Linked DNA regions of Homo sapiens: region 2 is linked to region 1. The links are contacts of gene promoters, found by promoter capture Hi-C in blood cells and fetal thymus (Javierre and others, 2016). All regions are on one chromosome and are shown on one strand. Each heading gives the region's core, a stretch centred on a gene start or on the middle of the fragment in contact. The rest is flanking DNA. Distances are from core to core; before and after follow the strand shown.

Evidence for each region. Contacts are between HindIII fragments. The CHiCAGO score rates a contact against its expected background, and 5 or more counts as called.
Region 2: a contact is called between a fragment that was not itself captured here and the fragment with the promoter of CIPC in region 1, in 1 of 17 cell types (naive CD8 T cells). The highest score is 5.7, in naive CD8 T cells.

The regions. Positions count from the first base shown.
Region 1 is chr14:77,094,102-77,100,695 of GRCh38, reverse strand. It overlaps CIPC (CLOCK interacting pacemaker), which reads right to left and starts at 2,438. Exons shown (of 4, transcript NM_033426.3): 1 at 2,335-2,438. LOC124903350 (a long non-coding RNA gene) reads left to right here and starts at 2,678. Exons shown (of 2, transcript XR_007064275.1): 1 at 2,678-2,820; 2 at 3,796-4,231. RefSeq lists enhancers at 1,668-1,827, 1,967-2,796, 3,158-3,207 and a silencer at 2,828-2,977. The HindIII fragment of the contact is 10,027 bases long and covers 1-5,206 here.
Region 2 is chr14:76,145,394-76,151,987 of GRCh38, reverse strand. GPATCH2L (G-patch domain containing 2 like) reads right to left here and starts at 66. Exons shown (of 10, transcript NM_017926.4): 1 at 1-66. The HindIII fragment of the contact is 627 bases long and covers 3,117-3,743 here.

The DNA of each region.
Region 1 (6,594 bases), core at 1,189-3,688:
TTGGGAGGGTGAGGCAGGAGAATCCCTTGAACCTGGGATGTGGAGTTGCAGTGAGCCGAGATGTTGCCACTGCCCTCCAGCCTGGGTGAAGAGTGAGACTCCGTCAAAAGAAAAAAAAAAAAGAAGAGAAAAGAAAAGAAAAGAGAGAATCAGAGCCAGGCAAGGTGGCTCACGTCTATAATCCCAGCAGCACTTTGAGGCACAGGCGGGCAGATCACCTGAGGTCAGGAGTTGGAGACCAGCCTGGCCAATATGGTGAAACCCTGTCTCTACTAAAAACACAAAAATTAGCTGGGCTTGGGGATGTGTGCCTGTAATCCCAGCTTCTCAAGAGGCTGAGGCACGAGAATAGCTTGAACCTGGGAGGCAGAGATTGTAGTAAGCCGAAATTGTGCCTCTGCACTCCAGCCTGGGTGACAGAGTGAGACTCCGTCTCAAAAAAAAAAAAAAAAAAAGAAAGAAAGAAAGTGAATCAATAAATATATAAGTTTATATAAGGGGACAAAATTCAAAATCCTAGCAAGTGCTCCAAAGCATTTAGCTCTTACTACTCTTTTTGCACTTCTGACATTAGTCTAATTATTTGTCTCCTCAACCTCGAGTTGTTTTTTTCATCTTTGCAACCTCAGCCCCCAACAATTAACATGAGGCATTCAATAGAGTAATAAATTCCAACAAATCTCTGACCTGCTGAGTCTCTGACAGCTCTAGTAGCTTAGCAGTCACAGAAATACCTGAACAGCTTGAAGGTCAAGATTCTGCATTTCCAAACACCACGGTCACCTTAAGATCTAACCTCCACGTCTGGTCCCCTGCAGGAAACAGATATTTGATCTACCCCTTATTCTAAGTTGAAACGTCAGGGACAAATCCACCATCCAAATTAAGGGTTGATCTAATCCACAAACAATCTTTGTGAAGATTTGTCCTTATGATTAAAAAGGAGATCCAGGGTTACAAGAAAAGGATCTGAAATGCTGCTTTCAGATCTCTCCTTTTATAGACACTTGGCAACATTCCTGGAAGCTCAAGTTCCCTTTAAAATGTGTCACGTGTATAACATGTGTGCCTGGACAGAAGTGTGAGGTAAAAGCCCAACCAGAGGCTTAAATACAATAAAGTGATAAGGTCACAGAAAGAAAACCTTGAGTAATCCCCGTTAGAATTATAAATACATTACTAGCTTTTCTCCGAAGTCATTTTCTTTTGGCCTGCATATTCAGGGATACCATTCTGGGAGAATGTCTGGGTATCTTAACAGTGGAAAAACCCTGTCTACCTAAATGTCTAATATTCATCTTCCCTTCCACATTCATTCCATTTCTCCAACTTGGCTGAAAATTCGTGTCAAAGATCCTGAACCCCAATTCCATACAATTTCCTATGTTTTAGACCAGTTTGGCTCTATTTTCACCTTTCAAAGGGGAGATGAGCTTAGAGAACTTTCTCCGATCCCCTGCTGCAATTAGTTCACAGTAACAGTGCCCACCTACCCATTCGCACCAGCCCACGTTGCATCTGTGCCAGGCAGCATGTGCACCCTCCAGGCATCCACCAGCCTGCCAGCTCAGCAGGGCAAAACTGGGCAGACCCTAGTACTGTGCTGTGACTGGCATACCACCAGCCTTCCAGGGCAAACGCCCAGGCAATGCATACTGCCAGGACTTGAGCAATAACAGGGAGCCTAGCTCCAGCCTGTGACCTGGGCCGGGATCAGAGCTCCCCCGAACCCACCCACTAACCACTTAACTCCTTACTTGGCACTGCCCACCTTCTCCCCAGAAACACTACCCCCGACACCAAGCCTGGCAAGCTGGCCACTCAGGGGAAACAACCAGCAACGAGGGTGACGGCAGGTCTCTGGAAAAGGCAGCACACCTGTGCCCTGGAGCCAGAACAGGGTACCACCCCCGACCTCAAACCGGAAGCCCAGGACCCTCGCCCAGTTACTAGTTCTGGCGCCCACTCACCTGCCCATTGCTTGGCCCTCAGCTCCCAGCCGGGCTGGACTCCAAGCTCTCTCCCCGCCCAGCCGGCTGGCGGTTGCGCCCAGGGCTAGACCAGGGCCCACCTGCCCCTCACACAAGCCTCCTCCCCACACGCAGCCCCCTCCTCACCCGCGATTCCCTCTCCCACGCCCCTCACAGCAAACCAAAGCCCTGCTCCCACCATTTGGCTCTCCGTCCTCCGAAAGTCCCGGTTTGCCCCTCTTGCCTACTCGCTCCTCTTCCTCTCTCCCCTACTTCCACCTCCTTTCCCCACGCTCCTCGCCCAATCCCTCTCCCGCCGTCATCCCTGCTCCCCTCCTCCCGGACCGAGCCCTCCCTTTCTCACCTAGGGCCGGGGTCGCAGCTCCACGACCGGCCTGTGGGTCAGGTGGCGCATGCGCGAGCACGGCCCCGCGGCACCATGACAACCTCGTCGTCGCTGGGTGTCTCGCTATCCCCACAGCCTCCCGCCCATTTCTCCTCCCCACGCCTCCGCGACGGCTTTCGCCAGCCACGTGACCCGACTCGGATGACCCGGCACCATGGAGACCGCACGCTGTTCTCCTAGAAGGGCCCTTGGAAATGCGCCCTTTCCCCGCCCCCGCCGGAAGACCAGGCCGGCGCGGGGCGGGGCCAGCGCTCAGAGGCCTACGCTCTGTCCGCGGCCGGCGGGCGTCTCTATGGTTGGTTCCTCAGGCCTCGCCGCCATTTTGTACGGGGGCCTTGAGCAATGAGCGGCTTGGGCAAGGTTTCCAGGCGGGGTTCAGAGGAGCCGGGGGTGGGGCCGGCTTGGAGTCGATACAGAGAGAGGAGCGACTCTCGCACTGTCTTGGTGCGTGCCGCCGTGCCGCCGTGCCGCCGTTGGGGGTGGGGGCCGGGGCGAGTCGTGTCCGGCCTGTGCGCGTGCCGGGAGCGACAGTGCCCGGCGTGGGAGAGCGGGCGTGCGGGCGGCCTCAGCCTGGAGTCGCCGTGACAGGGGTGCCAGACCTCCCCGCGTGCTCCTCGCATTTTCTCTACGCCTGTCGCCCTGTTTGTTTTTTGTTCCCGTCCACCCTCGAGACCGTGCTTCACGAGGTCGAGGCGCGATGAGTTATTTTAAGTAGATGATTTCATGACCTTTGATGTTTGACTGACTTTGTCATGTGCTATGGGTTTTATATGGATGCTGTTTCTTGGTGAAGGTTCACGGTGAACACACGTGTGTAACAGCTAAAGAAAAAAAGGGCTTGGGATCAGTTGACGTTCTGATGCCTTGAATCAGTGAAGGTTACTTAGAAAAAGAATTATTTCGCTAGTGAAAAAGAGGACATGGGCGAGTTTAAAGAGTTGACGGGTCGAGGCAGATTCAAGAGCTGAGCTGTCCAGTAAGATGGTCACTAACGACTGGATAAGTTTCTCAGTTGTACTAGCCACATTTCAGGAGCTCAGTGACCTCTTTATTGGACAGTGCAGATTATATATAGCCCATTCCCAGCATCGCAGAAAGTTATATTGGACAGTGCTGATTTAGATAGTGGGGAATTGTTTTATACTGGTCATCCAGGCCTTTGTAAGTGCTGCTAGGTCGTGGTTAATCACGTTAGTCCTCTAGACACAGGTAATTCTAATGTATTACTGGGTATGGGTGTACTTGTTAGTAGTCAGCTTTACCAACAAGTAATATGCCTACACCATGTAAGGCTTTTGTTTTGGGGACAGAGTGAAAGCAATAGTTAACAATTACCAAGTAATTAGGAGCCGGGCCGCTTTATATGCATCCTTTTATGATTCCTTACAAGTTTATGACGCAGGTGGTATTTTTTTCCAGTTGTGTGGCGTTTTTGCCCATTAGGACTCAACTAAAAACCCATGGCTTTGGCCAGGCACAGTGGCTGACGCCTGTAATCCCAGCACTTTGGGAGGCCGAGGCGGGCGGATCACCTGAGGTCAGGAGTTCAAGATCAGCCTGGGCAACACGGTGAAACCCCGTCTCTACTAAAAATACAAAATTAGCTGGGCGTGGTGGCACATGCCTGTAATCCTCGGGAGGCTGAGGCAGGATAATCGCTTGAACCTGGGAGGCGGAGGATGCGGTGAGCCGAGATCGTGCCATTGCACTCCAGCCTGGGCAACAAATCTCCGTCTCACCAAAACAAACAAACGAAAACCGTGGCTTTTATCCATGAAGCTATTAATATATTGCCTTCTTTTGAAGTGGAATAAAACAATCTGCCTTCAGATAACTTAAAATCTGATATGGGAAATAAGACGCGCTGTAATAAATAATATGAAAGAGAATGGGATAAGTACCAGAAGATTGTGAACAAAACCTAATTAATAAAATAAAGGGAGAAAAAAAAACTTTGTTTTTTTTTGGTTGTTGGAGTAGGAAGAGATCAGTAGGTAAATCTTTAAGGATAGCTAAAAGTTGGATTTGCAGTAATGGAAGTGGGTGAGAGTACGACGCACACAAAGCAAAAAAAGAATCAATGAAATAAGCAAAAGCATGAGGTGTGGTCCTATCTTAGTTTTCCGAAGGGGCAAATAAATAAACTATGAGAGGAATGAATTAATGGCATTTGCAGCAACCTGGATGAGATTGGAGACTTATATTCTAAGTGAAGTAACTAAGGAATAGAAACCCAAACATCGTATGTTCTCACTCATAAGTGGGAGTTAAGCTATGAGGATGTAAAGGCATAAGGATGATACAGTGGACTTTGGGGACTCAAGGGGAAAGGGTGGGAAGGGGGTGAGGGATAAAAGACTACAAATTGGGTGCAGTGTATACTGCTCAGGTGATGGGTTCACCAAAATCTCACAAATCACCGCTTAAGAACTTACTCATATAACCAAAATGCCACCTGTTCCCCAAAAACCTATGGAAATAAAAAATTTAAAAAACAGCAGCATGGATACTAGGCTTAATACCTGGGTAACGAAATCATCTGTACAACAAACCGCCATGACACAAGTTTACCTATGTAACGAATCTGCACACGTATCCCTGAACTTAAATAAAAAACAAAACAAAAATAAAATTCAAAAAAAAAAAGAATAAAAGTCTGCCTTCAAATAACTTACAATCTGATATGGGAAATAAGACATGATGTAATAAGCAATATGAAAGAGAATGGGATAACTACCAAAAGATTCTGAACAAAACAATAACATTAAGGGAGAAAAAAAAAACTTTCTTTTTCGGTTGTTGGAGTAGAAAGAGACCAGCAGGTAAAGCTTTAAAGACAGCTTGAAAGTTGGGTTTGCAATAATGGAAGCAGGTGAGGGGATAATGCATACCAAGCAAAAAAGAATCAGTGAAATATGCGAAAGCATGAGGCCCTCTTAGTCCTCCGAAGGGGCAAATAAACCAAACTTCCTTGACTTTACCTACATCTTGAGCAGACAGCCATGCTGTACCAATAACTTAAGCTTCAGACAAGTATTGTAATGGAACCAAATGAATCAAGACTAATGATAGGCATAATTTTTATGATTATTTTATGCTATGATTCTATATAATTAGATATACAGAATAAGCAATTCATGAAGATTGATAGTGAATATTTTTATGTAGCTAAACCACCGTAAACGTTTTTCTTCCTTTCCTATTAATTTACCAAGATTTGTAAATCAGCATCTATTGATAGTTTACTGGTGCCACGAATTCTTTAACCTTCACTCACTTTACTCTCTTTACTCTTGGTTGGAGTAAGGACCCTATGATGGATGGGGTAAGGACCCTGTGATGGATAGTGGGTTCTGAAGCACCTATTCTTCTTGCTGTAGGGTCCTTTCCAATTCAAGTTCTCCCCAGTACCATTGTGGTCTAGGTTCGGTTTCCTACCACCACAACCAGCAGGGGGAGACATGCGCCCTTAAATCCTACATTTAGGGACTTGCGAATGTTTCTTTTTTTTTCCCATCTACTTCTTGAAATTGTAACCTGCCTATCCGTGTGAGGATTTGAGTTTTTAACCCTGCCTAGGATACCATGAAGAGTCAGCCATGGGCCGAGTTTTATTTGAAGATATTTTAAGTGTATTATGTTATACAATTTAAAATATTTATAAACGATTGTTTAATAATTGTTGAATTTAAAATTAAAGTCATTTAAAAATATTTAAAAGTGGGCCAGGCGCAGTGGCTCACACCTGTAATCCCAGCACTTTGGGAGGCCAAGGCGGGCAGATCACTAGGTCAGGAGTTCAAGACCAGCCTGGCCAACGTGGTGAAACCCCGTCTCTACTGAAAATACAAAAATTAGCTGGGCATGGTGGCATGCGCCTTTAATCCCAGCCACTCAGGGGGCTGAGGCAGGAGAATTGCTTGAATCCAGGAGGCGGAGGCTGCAGTGAGCTGAAATTGTGCCACTGCACTCCAGCCTGGGTGACAGAGCGAGACTCCGTCTCAAAAAAAAAAAAAAAAAAAATTTAGAAGTAATTAAAATAGTGTAATAGGAGACGGTGAAAGTCAGTGATCTAGTTTCAAATTCCAGCTCCTATCAATATCATTTTACAAAAGAAGGGTCATTTTGATATCTTTTCCGTATACACAGAAGGGAAGATAGGACATAACCTCACAATTTAAAAATAGAATAATTTCGGGTGTATGAAAAACTTAAAGC
Region 2 (6,594 bases), core at 2,181-4,680, 950 kb after region 1:
TGCCGCAGCCACCTCCAACGGCCGCCGCTTTTTGGGCCGACTCTCACCGCCGGGGCTTCCCTCTCTGACCTCATTTCCGGTCTGGGCCGGAGGGGTGGGGCGGTGGCGAGTGGGAGGGGCTGGCTGCACGATTGGGCCCCTGACCCAGTGCTTCCGCCCGTGGCCACACCCACTTCCGCCCCGCGGTGGGCGGAGCCACAGGAAGCCAGGAGATGGGGCAGGGGACAAGGAGGGGTGTTGAATAGGGTCTGGCCGGGAAAGGGCGTCTCAGGGGTTGAGGTGCCCCACGTGGGGAAAGACCCCTGCATGCTGGCCTCATCTTCCTTAGGGGCTTCCAGAAATTGGGCGCTAGGCAGGGATGTCAGCTTATCTCTTGCTTTCTGACCTTTTTAATGGGTCTGTGAAGTTGAGGGGAAATGGATCTTAATGACGTCTACCCTGTGAGCTGGTACAACCTTTGGAAGAGGTTGTTTTGCACTGAGTTACTCAGAACATTTCAAATTGCCTTGAGCAATAAAACAAGTGATATTGGATTATAACTCAAAGTACAAAAGAAATATTCATGAGCCCATGCCGATATAAGTGATTGAATAAATTAACGAATGAGGAAGAAGAGATAAATCCCCCACAGAAGAATCTCAAATAACTTATGTAGACAGCCATCCTGCAGCATAACTTCTGCCTCCTTAAATGTGGGCTGTGCATAGTGACTTCCTTCCCAAAAGTACAACATCTGTAAAGGGGAAAATGAGTGATTTTACAGGGGAGAAACCTGGCAAACAGTAATTCAGCCAGGTGATCAAGACTATGTGCTAAATCATGTTGATAGTATGTGGAATGATATATGATGAGAATGGCACTTTATGGTACTTTCCTTCCAAATCTCATAACCCAGTCTAATTATAAGAAAAAAAAATCAGACAAACCCGAATTGAGGGACATTCTGCAGAGTGCATGACCAGTATTCTTCAAAATTGTTAAGATCAGCAAAGGCAAGGGAAGTCTAAGAAACTCAGAGCCAAGAGGAGCCTAAGGAGGCATGACAATGTAATATGGTGTCCTGGGTGTGACGCTGCAATTGAAAAAAGAACATTAGGTAAAAACTAAGGAAATCTGGATAAAGTATCAACTTTAGTTAATCATAATGTATCGGGCCGGGTGAGGTGGCTCACGCCTGTAATCCCAGCACTTTGGGAGGCCGAGGCAGGCGGATCACCTGAGGTTGGGGGATTGAGACCATCCTGGCTAACAGGGTGAAAACCTGTCTCTGCTAAAAATACAAAAATTACATGGGCATGGTGGCACGTGCCTGTAATCCCAGCTACTCGGGAGGCTGAGGCAGGAGAATCACTTGCACCTGGGAGGCGGAGGTTGCAGTGAGCCAAGATCGCACCATTGCACTCCAGCCTGGTCTACAAGAGTGAAACTCCGTCTCAAAATAATAATAATAATAATAACGTATCAATATTGGTTGCAATTGTGAGATGTGTTATACTTCTGTAAGAGTGAATAGCCTGGTGTGGTGGCTCACACCTGTAATTCCAGCACTTTGGGAGGTTGAGGTGGGCGGATCACCTGAGGTCAGGATTTCGAGATCAGCCTGGCCAACATGGTGAAACCCCGTCTCTACTAAAAATACAAAAAATTAGCCAGGTGTGGTGGCACATGCCTGTAGTCCCAGTCCCTACTCAGGAGGCTAAGGCAAGAGCATCGCCTGAGCCCAGGAGGCGGAGGTTGCAGTGAGCAGAGATCGAGCCACTGCACTCCAGCCTGGGCGACAGAGTGAGACTCAGCCGTCACAAAAAAAAAAAAAAAAAGTGAATAATAGGAGAAAGTGTGAATTACACAGAAACTGTAACAATCTTCATAATTTTTATCTAAACCCAAAATTATCCTAAAATAAAAAAGTTTATTTAAAAATATGCACATACCTTGGACCCTGAAATTTTGCCCCAAAGAATTGTATTCTAAGGAAAAATTGGAAATGGGCGCAAAAATGTTAAATATAGGTAAATCATCTCTGCAGCATTTCTGAGGGAGAGATGAGGAAACTAGAAAAAGCCAGAAGTTCTACAACAGGGGTTAGTTAACTAAATTATGGTACATCTATGGGTGGAATATCTTGCAACTTTTAAAAATTAATGTTGCAAAAGAATATTTAATGACATGAAAAGCCATCGACTTATGATTGTGTACATTTCTGCATGACTGTTATACTTCAATAAAAAGATTACTCTAAAAATGTAGAGTATGATTCCCATACAAAGGAAATTAAATCTATACTCGCAAAGGAATATGACCAGAAGAAGCCACCATACAATATCCGAAATGGTTTCATTATCAATGATTATATCTCCTATCTATTGTTTTTTGTGGATTTTCAGAATGTTCTATAGGTGAAAAAAAGTCAAGGTAGGAGACAAAGATAGCTGAGGTTTTGAGCTAGGGCAACTAAGACAATGGTCAGTGCCATCTGCACAGCTAGAGAAGTCAAGAAGATAAACGGGTTTAGTGGAAAGATGATTAATTCCATTTTGGACATGCTGAATCTGTGACTCCCACAGGACAGAAATATGGAAATGTTCAACAGGTGTCCACAGCCTTAGGCCTCTTTTCTGCATAAGTGAAAATTCTCTCCCACAAATCACATCTGTTCCCACGGTGTTGATTGCCTGCATCAGCACTGAAAGCTCCCAAATTTCTTGAAATCCAACTTATATTTTCATTTTTCTACTAGATAGCTCCACTTGTTCACCTCACCAGCATTTCCAATTTAAAATGTCAAAAATAGGCCAGGCGTAGTGGCTCACGCCTGTAATCCCAGCACTTTGGGAGGCTGAGGCGGGTGGATCACTTCAGGTCAGGAGTTTGAGACTAGCCTGGCCAACATGGTGAAACCCCGTCCCTACTAAAAATACAAAAAATTAGGCAAGTGTGGTGGTGGGCGCCTGTAATCCTAGCTACTGGAAAGGCTGAGGCAAGAGGATCACTTCATTCCAGGAGGCAGAGGTTGTAGTGAGCTGAGAGCACACTGCTGCACTCCAGCCTGGTGACAGGAGTGAAACCGTGTCTCAAAAATAAATAAGTAAATATAATAAAATGTCAAAAATAAAGCTTAGTTTCTTCCACAGTTTCTTTCTTCCTTCCTTCCTTTCTTCCCTCTCTCCTTTCCTTTTTTTTTTTTTTTTTTTTCCCAGACAGGGTCTCTGTGAAATGAAAGACAGAGTGAGACCATGTCTCAAAAAAAAAAAAAATTGGAAATGGGCTCAAAAATGTTAGATACAGGTTAAATTCTTCTCTGCAGCATTTCTGAGGGAGGATTGAGGAAAGTAGAAAAAGTCAGAAATTCTACAACAGGGATTAGTTAACTAAATGATGGTACACCTACGGACAGAACACTGCAGTGGCATGATCATTACCTCACTGCAGCCTTGACCTCCTGTGCTCAAGTAATATTCCCACCTCAGCACCCTAAATAGCTGGGACTACAGACACATGCCACCATGCCCAGCTAATTTTTAAATTTTTAGTAGAGAGATAGGGTCTCCACTATGTTGCCCAGGCTGGTCTCAAACTCCTACCATCAAGTGATCCTCCTGCCCCAGCCTCCTAGAGTGCTGGGATTACAGGTGTGAGCCACCTTGTCCAGCCTCTTCCATAGTTTCTATCAAACCTGCCCCTTCTCCACTGTTCACTCTTTGGAAAATATCGCCACCATCATGCAGTTACCCAGGTGAGAAGCTTCAAACCCATTTTTAGTTCTTGTTTCTTTCTTTTACCCCTTTATCTAGCAAAGTGCTAAGCCCCGTAGATTGCACTCCTGCAGTAGTCTTGCATTTGTCCTCCCTCATTGGTTTTTGCTCTGCCATTGGCCTCATCTGGGCAGGTAACCACTCTTCTGGGTGATGCAGCAGCTGCCTTACTGGTCTTCCCACTTGCAGTCTCTCCCCCCAAAATGCCATCCTCTACCCAGGCACCAGAGTGAGTTTCCTAAAACACAATTTTAGTGGTGTCATTTCATCCATCTTCCACTACCTCCTGCATCATGCTTGAGCACACCATATCACTTGCTAGTTCTAGAACACCCTTGGGATCTGGGGTGATTTAAAGGCTCAATTCCAATGTCACCTCAAGAAAGACACTTACCCTTGCTTGCCCACTCCTTTGGCTCTCATTCTGAGCACTTGCCGGTAGCTTTATGACCACACTCTCTTCCTTCAACCTGAACTAGAGCCAATTATGTGCAAGTTTGCCTCCCCAACTAAGTCACTCATTCAACAAATATTTACTAAGCGTCTACAATATGCCTGGCCCTGTGCTTATATGTATATAACTATGTGAACCAAACCAAAGCCTACTGCATTGCCCTGAAGACCCTGTCCTATTCATTGTATTCTCATCAGTGCCTAGCACAGTGCCTTACACATGGTAGGTGCTCCATAGTTATTGTTGGTTAAAAATTAAATGAATACTTGTTTACTAAATGCTGGGTCAGGGACATTAGAAGTGCTTGTCTCAGTCCCATGAGAAAATTGTAATGAAACTTCCGCCTTCATGGGATGGTGGAAGCCATGGGCAGAATCACATAATGAAAGAGGGTGGTGAGAGAAGTGGCCTGTTGTGGAAGAAGAGGACAGCTCCAAAAAGACTGAAAGCATCTGAAGAGAACCTGTGTCTAAAAGCCAGAGGAGAGAGAGTTTTAAGAAAATGAAGAAGAAAAGGAAGTTTGAAGATGAGCAGTTCTGAGGAAATGCCACCACACTTGGCAACTGAGGAGGTCACTGATGGTAATAAGGCCTGAGCAGGCTGCAAGCAGGCAGCAGTGGAGGAGGGGGAAGGAGGTGAAGGGTGAAGCCCTAACTGCCTGACTGTGTCCAGAGCTAGAAGCTTCACTTCTTTGAGCCTTTGCTTCCCTATCTGCAATATGGAGACAATATTTGTACATATCTATCTCTTGGATGGAGATGAAATGAAATAATGAATGTAAAGCATTTAGTACACAGCCCAACACAAATTAACTGCTCCAAAAGTATTAGTAGTTACTGAAAAGAGGGGAGTAGTCAACAGAAGTTTCCCTTTTTTGACCATCAAACGTAGTCGAATGAGGAAATTCCCAGCTGAAAAAGAATCTGCACATGGAAGGAAATAATAGGCTTCTCTCACCTCTTTCCTCCCCACAAAAATGTATATATATTTTTTGAGATAGAATCTCACTCTGTCACCCAGGCTGGAATGCAGTGGCACGATCATGGCTCACTGCAGCCTCGACTTCCCTTGGGCTGAGGTCATCCTCCCACCACAGCCTCCTGAGTAGCTGGGACTACAGGTACGCGCCACCAGGCCGGGCTAATTTTTGTACTTTTTGTTTGTTTACGTGTTTGGGGTTTGCTTTTTGTTTGTTTTTTTTTGTTTCGAGACAGTCTCATTCTGTCACCCAGGCTGGAGTGCAGTGGTGTGATCTCAGCTCACTGCAACCTCCGCCTCCTGGGTTAAAGCGATTCTTGTGCCTCAGCCTCCCTAGTAGCTGGGATTACAGGCACACACCACCACACCCAGCTACTTTTTGTATTTTTCAGTAGAGACAGGGTTTTGCATGTTGGTCAGGCTGATCTAGAACTCCTGACCTCAAGTGATCTGCCTACCTTGGCCTCCCACAGTGGTGGGATTACAGGCGTGAGCCACCGCGCTTGGCTGTTTTTGTACTTTTTGTAGAGACAGGATTTCACCGTGTTGCCCAGGCTGATCTCAAACTCCTGGGCTTAAGAGATTTGCCCACCTCGGCTCCCAAAGTGCTAGGATTACAGGCATGAGCCACTGTGCCCAGCCAAATATATTTTTTAAACAAATAATTAATAATAAATAAAAAATCTTCCACTGCTGATTTATTACATTCCCTGCACTTATAATAAACCTAAAGTCCTCACTATGGCCTGCACAGTCAGGTATGATGTGGGCCCTGCCTGCCTCTGGTCTTGACTCTCTTCCCTGTGCCCACAGTACCAACCCACCATGCTCTTTTTCCACCTTCCCCAGGGCCTTGACATGCTGTCCTGCACCTGAGAGCATCATTGAGGCCTTGGCTAAAATATCACCTCCACAGAGAGGACTTTTCTAATAGGATCTAAAGTACTTTCTATCTCATCGTCCATTCTGTGCAGCTATAACAAAATACCATAGACTGGGTGATTTATAAAGAGCAAAAATGTATTTTCTCATAGCTTCTGGAGTCTGGGAAATCCAAGATCAAGGTGCTGGCAGGTTTGGTGGTCTGATGAGGTTCACTCTTTGCTTCAAAGATGGTGCCCCGTTTCTGCATCCTTTGGAAGGGAGGAATGCTGTGTCCTCACATGATGAAAGGCAGAAGGGCAAGTGAGCCAACACTCTGTAAAACCTCTTTTATATGAGCCTTAATTCCATTCATGAGGGGAGAAGCCCGCATGACCAATTACCTCTTAAATACTCCACTTCTTAATAAAATCACATTGGCCATTAAGTTCTAACACCTGAATTTTGGAAGATACATTTAAACCATAGCACCTGGTATATTTCCCTTATGGCACTTATTATAGTCCAACTTCATCCTATTTCTTTGGT